Linked DNA regions of Homo sapiens: region 1 is linked to region 2. The links are contacts of gene promoters, found by promoter capture Hi-C in blood cells and fetal thymus (Javierre and others, 2016). All regions are on one chromosome and are shown on one strand. Each heading gives the region's core, a stretch centred on a gene start or on the middle of the fragment in contact. The rest is flanking DNA. Distances are from core to core; before and after follow the strand shown. Region 1 has its middle 16 kb from the start of JAKMIP2. Region 2 holds the start of ADRB2 (adrenoceptor beta 2).

Region 1 (6,184 bases), core at 1,167-3,666, 1.0 Mb after region 2:
ACTCCCTTGGAGTGTCACCAAGCCAGGCTAGGACAGAGAGTTAGGCCTCCAAACCCCTGAGCAGCACTTGCTTTCTTGAGATAGCATTATCTGGGGATCAGTTTCAGGTGGGAGGCAAAAAGTTAAGGAAGAGTTTGCCACTATGGCAGAATTAGTTTAGCAGTGGGAAGGTCTACGTTTTGGTCTCAAGAGAGGAAATTGTGAATTTACCTAGAAAGGGTGAAGTTTTACCCAGCAGATAACTCTGCCCTTTCCTGTAAATTTACCTAGATGGGGTGAAGTTTACCCAGCAGATAACACTGCCCTTTCCACTATGACCCATGTAACCTGGACAGCCCTGTATTGCCCAACACAAAGTTACTCTTAGAACATAGAAGACCTAGGCAGGAAGACCTGGTGGTGTTTATGATGCCCACTGTGGCCTTGACACCAGCTAACCAGAATAAGAGAATTTTAGGGACCACTCCTTTTTCTTTCTTTGAAAAGGAAAACAGAAAATTGAGCATCAATAGAAACATCAGCCTCTGTCCTTCCTGACTTCTGATGTCTACCCTTGGACATCCATGAAATCCCAAGCTGTCTAATTCCCCTTGGAAATGAAAAAGTAGAGAGGGGTATACACTTAAGTTTCTTCGGCATGATGCCTCCACCTTATAGGAACCGGTTAAACATCCCCAGGACAATCATCAGCAATTGCCTTTGGATACGTAAGGATTCCTAGGATCAGTTGCTCCCCCTGAACTTGAAGAGATCAATTTATGTGTAAGAGAATGAAAAGCACATATATAGGGCCATCAAGGACAACATTGGCCAGAAAATGTAAGGTAAGGGCCACAGTAAAACAAAGACGCATTCAGGTAGGATTTCCCGGGCTCACATCATACTCACATCAAGGTCAAGGCTATTTTTAGTGTTCCCTTCCCTTCATCTCAGCTAAGGTCTGTAATTCTCACTGCCAAGTCCCAGGTTCATTTAGGCATGCACTTGATGCCGCTTCTAAATCCTTATCTTTACCTGTTTATCTTGCTGTTTTCTCAGTAGTTGTGGCTGGATGTATCTGCTGTCCCAGGCAGACCAAGTTTAAGACATGTACATTGGTCTCCCAGATCAACTTAATTTAAATGGGTATGTCCTCCTTGCTACACACAAGAGGATTTTGAATTGATAATCGAGGAAAACTGGAGTCACTTCTCCTAGGATAGAACTCTGCATTTATTTGCTCAAAGCAACTGGTAAAGAATGATGGATGAGCCAAGGTTTTCATTTCACCATATGGAATCAAAGGAGTTTGCATTCCTTGTTGCTATGTCTCTCAGTCTGTAGTCAACGGAAAATATATTTCATTAGAACAAGAGGGAGCTATTTAAGTTACCTCTTTTATGTTACTATTTATGTTAGATCATAAATCAATCTAGTCTTTGATATAAAATCTAGTATTTCTAAAGCCATTACGTAAATACAAAATTACCAATTTTCAGTGCTTAAACCAGGGATGATGCATCTATACTAAAGCATATGAGAATTTTCTTTTTGTCAAAAATACTGGTTCTCAGGCCTTTGAGATTACTTTAAATATCAATGGGAGACTTTGACTAAAAGGCTTCTTTTTAAAGATTTGCATAATGTTGTCTGGATGGTATTGCAGAACCTGGATCCTGCAATCTGCCCCTACCTTTAACTTGTTCCCACCGTGTTTGCTTGCCTTGACCTACTGGTTAGTCCTGCTCTCCCTGCCATTTTCACTGGGATTTTTCTTCCTATGTGCTTATTTGTAGGAAACTCTTCTCCATTTCAGACAACATATTCTAAATGCTCTTTACTGCACTATACTTGAAGAATGCTCCTTTTAGCATGGACTGGTCTAAAAATTATATCAGTGCCAATGCAGTAAGATTTATAAGAGGATGGAAAATGCAGAGTTTGGCTCTTTTTAAATTCTTTTATGTAAGTAGGCTCTACAAGACATTTGAACTATACTTTACTGAAAATAATTACATCAAAATTTGGTCAACAATGCAAATTGTTGCTGGACCAGGGCCAGGGCTAAGATGATACCCCAGGCATTCAAAAACTCAGCTGAGTACTCCTGTCACATATGAACCATGAAGAAGGACCTGCAGAGTCAAAGGGAGAAAACATACATCTCATCTCCTATCTCTTCTAGTGTCTGCTTTACTTATTTACTCTTAACTGTGTGCATTTTCTTTATTCAGTCATTTATTGGTTGGCTTTATCCTCTTGGGGGAGTTAACCAATTACAGAAACAAAACTTTTATTTTATCTGATTAGAATCAGATTATGCATTTTGGTAGAAATACCTCAGAAGTGATGCTGTGTCCTTTTGAGTGCATGATGTTAAGGAGACACAGGGCCAGGCGTGGTGGCTCACGCCTGTAATCTCAGCACTTTGGGAGGCTGAGGCAGGCAGATCACCTGAGGTCGGGAGTTCAAGGCCATCCGGGCCAACATGGGGAGACCCCGTCTTTACTAAAAATACAAAAATTAGCCTAGTGTGGTGGCATGCACCTGTAGTCCCAGCTACTCAGGAGGCTAAGGCAGGAAAATCACTTATCACTTGAACCCAGGAGGCAGAGATTGCAGTGAGCCAAGTTCATGCCACTGCACTCCAGCCTGGGCGACAGAGTTAGATTCTGTCAAAACAAACAAACAAACAAACAAACAAAAACAAAAAAACAAAGAGAGAGAGATATATAGGATGTCTGTTCATTCTACTCTTGGTGATGTTAACTTTGATCACTTGATTAGAGAGATACAGTAGCCCCCTCTATCCCCTAATCTGGGGGATATGTTCCAACAGCCTCAGTGGATGCCTAATGCTGCAGAAAGTACTGAACCCTATATATGGGCATACTTTAGTGAAGTTACAGGTTTGGTCCAGACCACAATAAAGTGAATATCAGAATAAAGCAAGTCACAGGAATTTTTTTTGTTTCCCAGTGCGTATAAAAGTTATGTTTACATTGTACTGCAGTCTATTAAGTGTGCAATAGCATTATGCCTTAAAAAAACAATGCGCATAGCTTAATTTAAAATATTTTGTTGCTAAAAAATGCTAATGATCATCTGAGCATTCAGGAAGTCATAATTGTTTGCTTGCCTCGATACTGATGCTGCTGACTGACCAGGGTGGGAGTTGTTGAAGGCTGGAGTGGTGTGGCAATATTTTAAAGTAAGACAACAGTGGAGTCTGCCACAACAATCGACTCTTCCTTTTATGAAAGATTTCTTTATAGCCACCAATGTTGTTTGAAAGCATTTTACTCACAATGGAACTTCTTTCAAAATTGTAGCCAATCCTCTCAAACCCTGCCACTGCTTTATCAACTAAATTGATGTAATACTATAAATGCCTTGCTGCTATTTCAACAAGGTTCACAGCATCTTCACCAGGGGTAGTTTTCATTTCAAGAAACCACTTTTCTTTGGTCATCGATAAGATGCAACTCCTCGTCCTCATCTGTGAAAGTTGTATCATGAGATAGCAGGAATACAGGCACATCTTCAGAGTCTACTTCTAATTCCAGTGCTCTTGCTATTTCCACCATAACTGCAGTTATTTCCTCCATTGAAGTCTTGAATCCTCAAAATCATTCATAAGGGTAGAATCAAGTTCTTCAAAACTCCTACTAATGTTGATCTTTTGACTTCCTTCCATGAATGTCGAATGATCTTCATGGCATCCAGAATAATGAATCCTTTCCAGGAGACTTTCACTTTACACAGATCCTTCCCAAGAATCACTATCTATGATAGCTATAGCCTTGTGAAATGAATTAAATAATAAGACTTGAAAGTCAAAATGACTCCCTGAACCATAGGTTGAAAATGAACATTATGTTAACAATCATGAAAAACAACGTTAATCTCCTTGTACATCTTCATCAGAGCTCTTGGGTAACTGGGTACCTTATTAGTGAGTAGAAATATTTTGAAAGGGATCACTTTTTTGAGCAGTAATTCTCAATATTGGGTTTAAAATATTCAATAAACCATGCTGTAGACAGAAGTGCTGTCATTCAGGCTTTGTTGTTTCATTTGCAGAGCATAGGCAGAGTAGATTTGGCATCATTCTTTAAGTGCTCCAGCATTTTCAGAGTGGTAAATGAACCCTGGCTTCAATTTCAGGTCACAGCTGCTGTCCCCTAACAAGTCAGTTTGTCCTCTGAAGCTCGGAAGCCAGGCACTGACTTTTCCTCTTTAGGATGTTCTAGATGGTAACGTCTTCTAATAGAAGGCTCTTTTGTCTGCAATGAAAATCTGTAGTATAATATGGCCACCTTCATCAATGATCTTAGCTAGTTAGATCTTCTGAGTGGTTTCCTGCAGCTTCTACATAAGCCCTTGCTGTTTCACTTTGCACTTTTCTGTTATGGAGATGGCTTCTTTCCTTAAACCTCATGAACTAACTTCTGCTAGCTTCCAACTTTTCTTCTGTAGCTTTCTCACCTCTTTCAGCCTTGTAGAATTGAAGACAGTTAGGGCCTTACTCTAGATTAGGCTTTGGCTTAAGGGAATATTGTGGCTGGTTTTATCTTCTATCCAGACCACTCAAACTTTCTTCATAATAACATAACAGTAATAAGGCTGTTTCACTTTCTTATCATTTGAATTTTCCTCAAGCACTTTTCCTTTGAATTCACAACTTGGCTAACTGTTTGGCATAAGAGAACTAGCTTTAAGTCTATCTTGGCTTTTGACATGCCTTGCTCACTACGTTTAATCGCTTAAGTAGAACAAGTTACTTGAACACAAAGACTGCAATACCGTCACAGTTGATCTAATAACTGAGAGAGCTACTACGTTACTAACAGGCAGGTAGTGTATACAGCGTGAACATGCTGGACAAAGGGATGATTCATGTCTCAGGTGGAACAGAGTAGGAACATGAGAGATTTCATCATCGCACTCAGAATGGTGCACAATTTAAAACTTAGGAATTATTTATTTCTGTAATTTCTAACTTGATATTTTTAAACTGCAATTGATTGCAAGTAATAGAAACTGTGTGAAGCAAAACTAAGGATAAGGGGGAATTCTGGTACCAACTAGGTTTCTTCACTGTAAAGTTATTCCTTTTCCCCTTGTAAAGAATGGGAGGGGGACCTTGTAGAGATATAGTCTGACACTCCATAAATATCCTCTTCCTCATCAAACATTTACCCATTAGTTTTAGCATTGATGATTCATCCTTAGAATATTACTATGATGTTTGCTAAATGCTGATTTCCCAAATGATGGATCATTCCTTTTATAGTTATGAGTTGGCATTCTGCTGTAAGAAAAAGCTTTCCTCCCTGTTTATTTCATTTTATTTATTTATAAAAGAATGGAATCATGGATTCTAATTTTATTATATGAATTACATTCCACTACTATTATTAATCTTTTGATGCCCAAACTCTTTCAGATTTTGTGAATGCCACTCCTTTCAAGCTGGTTCCTTTGACTTTTGAAGTATTTCCATCTTTCTTTAAGTACTTCTTTACTTTCTACAACAGCAAGATGTTCCAGGCTCATTTTATCTTTATTGCCACAGATCTGGAATCAGCCATTTTGTCCAATGAGTCCTGATTTATTTTCTTTTAATGAAGTATGACCTTTAGAATTCATGCTCTGGATATTGTTGTGTCATTGCTACCAGGCCCTCTGAGCAGACAGATCTGGCATATACATGTCAGCAATCTCACTCTCTCTCGCTCGCTTTCTCTCTTCCTCCTGCACCCCCCCATCTCACTACCAACTTTTGTTCACACATGCAACCTATGAGTATCTGTTCCTCCACAACCTCATCAACAGAAGCTATTTTTATAATAATCTGATCTTATAAGACAATTCCCAATGATCTGTTCTAGTCATGAAGACCAGACTCACATGGATCTAGGAAGAGACAGCATTCACTGCGCCACATAAAAGTGGAGGCACAGGGTGACTAGATGTCACCAAAGGGCTCCCCTCAGTGTGGCAACCTATGAGTGAAGTTCCGCCTGTAGCTTTTAAGAGAAGGCAGGCTAAGTGTTTCCCAGTAAACTTTGTCCATCTGCCCAAATGTATATGGGAGACATAAAAAGAAGGGTCAGCGCAAATCAGATTACAAATTCTAAGACAGACATGAAGCCTTGTCTCAAAGACTGGTCCCTGATAATAAGCTTTGGATTATTGACAC
Region 2 (5,755 bases), core at 2,102-4,601:
GAGTCAGCTTCATGAGCCAGTGGAATGGCAATGAACCCTGCAGGCTGATCTGCTCTAGCCTGGCGTTGCCAAGGAGGACGATCCACTTCATCAAACCTGGGCCAAGCTCTGGCTCAGACACACAGGCAAAAATAGAAAGGGGCTGGGAGAAGAAATGTGTTTACTTTTGTGATTTCCCCTAACGTGCCTCTTGACAGTATTATAATCTCTTCACAAACAGGAGTCATGGCCCACAGGCCTCACCTCCATTGATAAACCCTCTCAAACAATTCATGTACAGACTTAAAGCCTTCTTAACATTTCATGATCACTATTTGGGCAGCTAGAAAACAAGTTTAGAAGGCAGCATGATGGAATGGAAAGAGTGCTGGTGAGGGTCTGTTACTGCCTAGGTGAACTGTGAAAATCCCTCTCTAAGGCTCTGCACAATCAAGCGCTTGCATTAGAAAGAATGTATGTATCTGCTGAGATTTTTACAGTTTCTACCAGTGACTCTCAACCAGGGGCTAATTCGCACCTCAGGGGCTCTTTTGCAATGTCTGGAAACATTTTTGCTTGTTATAAGCAGGGGGTGCTATTGGCATCTAATGAACAGAGGCCAGAGGTGCTACACATACAATGATGCAGCCCCCATAACAAAGAGTTATCTGGTCCAAAATGCTAACAGTGCTAAGACTCAGAACCTTGGTTTACACTGAATCGAGGAGAGTCAGTGGGAGAAGAAAACAGGGACCAAAGGAAAGAAGGAAAAGGGGTTAAAATTCTGTTTCTAGTTCATGAGGTATCCATCAGTTATGTGTTCTCCAGCTTTTCTCCCCATGACCAATGCCTTTTGAATTTTCCCTCAGAATTACGGGGCCATGTCTGAGTAGCTTCCTCATAAGAACATCTTCCTTATCCCTAAAATGCCAAGCCCTGATGCAGTACAAAGAGCTCCACTGTAACACATGGCCAAGACAGAAATATAAACAGTTTTGAAACAAGTAGAACTGGAAGGTGGGTGGTGGGTGCACGTGGAGAGAAAAAAACATATCCCCTTAACTCCGCTTCTGTGAGTCAGTGTTTCTGAGGTAACAACACAGAACAATAACCATAGGGAGAGTTGAGCTATACTAAGAGCAGGCAGAACTGATTTGGGGCACAAGTGTCAGGAGAGATGCAGCTTTGCAGCAGCAGACTCAAAGGCAAATGAAAGGGTTAAGCAATCTGTGCATGTCATTCTTGTATCATTCTACATTAAGTCATGGGCAGTAATTACAAGTAGTTACCTGCGGTTTCCAGTGGGGGAGGCAACAGCACTCCAGTCAAGGGGTTTTGGAGAAACAGGTGCAATGAAGGCATGGTCAAACAATTTATTTACTGTAAACTTTAGACTTTGCTCGGGAAAACAACTGAAGCTGCTCCTCAAATCCCTGCCTAAAATACCCCGTGTGAGCAAATAAGAGGAGTGGGGGAAGAGTCCATGTTCACAGCTGAAAGGTCCGAGATACTCAAAATCCTCAAGTCCAAGGGTGTAGGAAGGAAAATCTCCTTCAGATACAAATTACCAGCAGCAATATATTACCCCTAATACTTGAATAGTGAGGTAGATACATGGAAAAGTCATGAAAATATAGCAGACTCAGGTCCTCTAGGACTAAAGCTCTTTAGACATAAACTTACAAATTCCATGCAAAGAGGAACTGAACTGTACAAATAACAAATAATCACTCAAATAAGTTTTCTCTCTTTTTACAGCTTAAAAAAATAAAAAAGGCAGAAGGATGCCCTTCCTTCTGCATATCTCTATACAATTTTACAATTTTATTCTAAGTTTATTACCCTCAAGTTAAATAGTCTGTTTAGTGTTCTGTTGGGGGGGGGGGTCTTTAAAAGTAGAAAAACTGCTTTACAGCAGTGAGTCATTTGTACTACAATTCCTCCCTTGTGAATCAATGTTATCGCTAGGCACAGTACCTTGATGGCCCACAAAGTCTTCCGTGCCTGGGAGGTCTTCACACAGCAGTTTATTTTCTTTCTCCTGTTCCACGTGATATCCACTCTGCTCCCCTGTGTTGCCGTTGCTGGAGTAGCCATTCCCATAGGCCTTCAAAGAAGACCTGCGCAGGCACAGAAGCTCCTGGAAGGCAATCCTGAAATCTGGGCTCCGGCAGTAGATAAGGGGATTGAAACCAGAATTGACATAGCCTATCCAATTTAGGAGGATGTAAACTTCCTTACGGATGAGGTTATCCTGGATCACATGCACAATGTTAACGATGAAGAAGGGCAGCCAGCAGAGGGTGAAAGTGCCCATGATGATGCCTAACGTCTTGAGGGCTTTGTGCTCCTTCAAGCAGAACTTGGAAGATCTGCGGAGTCCATGCCCCGTCCGCCCATCCTGCTCCACCTGGCTAAGGTTCTGGACATGGAAGCGGCCCTCAGATTTGTCAATCTTCTGGAGCTGCCTTTTGGCCTCCTGAAAGACCCTGGAGTAGACGAAGACCATGATCACCAGGGGAACGTAGAAGGACACGATGGAAGAGGCAATGGCATAGGCTTGGTTCGTGAAGAAGTCACAGCAGGTCTCATTGGCATAGCAGTTGATGGCTTCCTGGTGGGTGGCCCGGTACCAGTGCATCTGAATGGGCAAGAAGGAGGTAAGGCCTGACACAATCCACACCATCAGAATGATCACCCGGGCCTTATTCTTGGTCAGCAGGCTCTGGTACTTGAAAGGTGAAGTAATGGCAAAGTAGCGATCCACTGCGATCACGCACAGGGTCTCAATGCTGGCCGTGACGCACAGCACATCAATGGAAGTCCAAAACTCGCACCAGAAGTTGCCAAAAGTCCACATTTTCATAAGAATATGGGCGGCCCCAAAGGGCACCACTGCCAGGCCCATGACCAGATCAGCACAGGCCAGTGAAGTGATGAAGTAGTTGGTGACCGTCTGCAGACGCTCGAACTTGGCAATGGCTGTGATGACCAGCACATTGCCAAACACGATGGCCAGGACGATGAGAGACATGACGATGCCCATGCCCACCACCCACACCTCGTCCCTTTCCTGCGTGACGTCGTGGTCCGGCGCATGGCTTCCATTGGGTGCCAGCAAGAAGGCGCTGCCGTTCCCGGGTTGCCCCATGGCGCGCAGTCTGGCAGGTGAGCGCACTGGCTGGGGGCGCCTCAGCGGGCGGACCCACGGCGGGGCTCTGCGGGCCGCGAGCGGACGCCTGGAAGCCTCATTCAGCGGCTGTGGTGTGGGTGTGGTGGGGACTCGTCCTGCACACTCAGCTTGTCGGGTGCTAGGGGCTCGCGGTGCCTGCCAGTTCCAGCCCGTGCTCTGAAGAAGCCGCTTCGCAGTGCGTTCTGCCCGTTATGTGCACAGGACTTTAGGGGAACTGCCCTCGCCGTGACGTACGGGAACTTTCGGCCAATGGCACGCCGGCAGCCGCGAAGGGGCGAGGCACTCCTCCCCTTTCCCTCCCCTCCCCTCGCCCTCCTTCTCCTGGGGCTGGCCCGGGCGGGGCCCAACTGCTCCCTGGAGGGCGGGCCACCACTGCTTCCCGGCTACCCTGGCTGGCCCCAGAGGGCTAAAGCTGGAGGTGGTGTCCTTACCAGCCAACCCGGGAGCTTTTGGCTCTTCTGTGGCCGCTACCTGCCTGCCCTGGGCGCCTGCGCGGCTTGAGGTCTCAAGGCAGAGGGCAGCACACCGGCACTGCCCCACATTCGGAAGGAAACGAGAGTGCCCACCGAGGCACGCACATACAGGCACAAATACACCCTGGCAGACATGCTCAGACTTATACCGAACCACAGCCATAGACACTGAGACACACCCTCCCAGCTCACCGACATGCACACTCGCGCGCGCTCTCACACAGAAGCCATCCGGCACAAAGTCACCCCTGTCCAACACAGAAACGCGGCCAGAAACAAACACAGAAGCACCCAGAAGCACAAAGACATGGTGACACACACAGAAAGTAAACACACGCTGGCTTGGAGGCATCCAGAGCGACACAGACACGGATGTCTCCATCTGGGTACTCCGAACTTGCCTCACCCGAGCACTGATAATGCTCCCCTCCCAACATACACCCGGTAACCCAGTGTATTCCCTTTCAAACATTTGGCAAGAGCACAGGAGGTGACTTCAACAGCTGCTGATTTCCTCAGCACACTCGCTGTCAAGTACTTTAGGTGCCCTCCTTAGGAATTTGCAGGCATGAAGACAGTTTTACCCTTTGGATTTTATCTGGAGCGGGGGTATGCAAGTATGTATTTTGGGACAGAGAGAGAAAGTTGTGTGCTTTTGTTTTAATTTTTTTGTTGTTTTGTTTTTAACTCTTGAGAGTGTGGCATCACTCACTCATTATCTGTTGAACTGGAGATGCAATGAGAATTCAAACAATTTCTTCAGTAAACCCAATGAAACTAAAAAAAATCCTTTCATCTGCTGGATAGTTTGTTAATCTTTCGGGTTGTGCCATGTGAAATTGCCACCATCTGGCGTCTGTGACTTACCAAAATGGCAAATTCATATGGTTCAGAGTATTAAGAATGTCTTAACATTAAGAACATTTTGAAGCTATAGAAAGCAAAAGATCCTGGCCAATATGGTGTAACTCTTGTCTCTACTAAAAATACAAAAATTAGCCAGGTGTGGTGGCACGTACCTGTAGTCCCAGCTACTCGGGAGGCTGAGACAGGAGAATCTCTTGAACCCGGGAGGTGAAGGTTGCAGTGAGCCGAGATCACGTCACTGCGCTCCAGCCTGGGTGACAGAACAAGACTCCATCTCAAAACAAAACAAAACAAAAAACACAAGATAATTCTCCCTTAAGAAAAAGAAAAAAGTAAGACCAAATCTCAAAAGTAAGATCTTTGTTCATGAAATACTATCCTTTCCATCTGGCATGTGACTTTACTGCTAAAGTGAAATTAATTTTCAGGGTTTGATTTCCCATGTATTAGTGGTGTCTTTGAAAAACTGAAAGTATTTCATGAAGTGTAACTAAACGTACTTTGTAGATTACATAATAACATAACAATGGTTAACATTTATGGACCATTCTGCTATTTGCTTTTCATGCATTATTCTATTTAATCCTTCCCACAGTCCCATGGGGGTGGGGACTATTTTTAGCTTAATTCACAAATGAGGTTCAAAGAGGAAAATGGCTTGCCCAGGGGCAATGGCTGGGCAGTGCCAGAATCTGGATTTGACCCAGGTCTGCCTGAGTCCAAGACCCATCTTTTAATCTTTTCAATGTATTGCATAATTACATGCAGACAGGAGTGATGGATAGGGAGGAAGGGCTACAACTGGAACTGGAATACCCAGGTTCCAGATTCACCAAACTTGGAGCTTTCTAGTTCATTTTTTTTTTTTTTAAGAGAAATCACGAAGTACCTGATTTCCATTGTCTCTAAAGGGGCATAAAGTCACTTCCATTGGGGTAAGCAAGAATTGAATGATATAGTAAGAAATATGAAAATGCTTTTGCTCATATAAGTGTCACACAAGTGTAGTTTGTAAGCGAAGTTTACATAAATTACTTAGTGGTTTAGAATATGTTGTTAGTCTTCTCTACTAGAACAATAAAATACTTTAGGGCAAAAGTAAGTTGGGTGTTTACTCTGGAAGCAAAGCTCAGAAACAGAATTTAACCTACATATCCCCTTTAACATCCTTCATAGCAGAAACTGACTTTTTGCAAGACAGATGCCTTAGAAAACAAGTATTTCCCATAAAATCCACAAATAT

Evidence for each region. The method cuts DNA at HindIII sites, captures the fragments that hold promoters and counts their contacts. A CHiCAGO score of 5 or more calls a contact.
Region 1: a fragment that was not itself captured here is called in contact with the fragment with the promoter of ADRB2 in region 2 in 1 of 17 cell types (monocytes); the score reaches 5.6 in monocytes.

What each region holds. Positions count from the first base shown.
Region 1 is chr5:147,795,770-147,801,953 of GRCh38, reverse strand. No RefSeq gene overlaps it. Among named protein-coding and RNA genes, the nearest start is that of JAKMIP2, 16 kb to the right of the region's middle. The HindIII fragment of the contact is 5,784 bases long and covers 1-5,308 here.
Region 2 is chr5:148,824,207-148,829,961 of GRCh38, reverse strand. It overlaps ADRB2 (adrenoceptor beta 2), which reads right to left and starts at 3,351. Exons shown (of 1, transcript NM_000024.6): 1 at 1,339-3,351. The coding sequence starts at 3,130. The coding sequence ends at 1,889. RefSeq lists enhancers at 2,451-3,036, 3,893-4,052 and silencers at 3,083-3,222, 3,313-3,622. The HindIII fragment of the contact is 9,818 bases long and covers 1-5,755 here.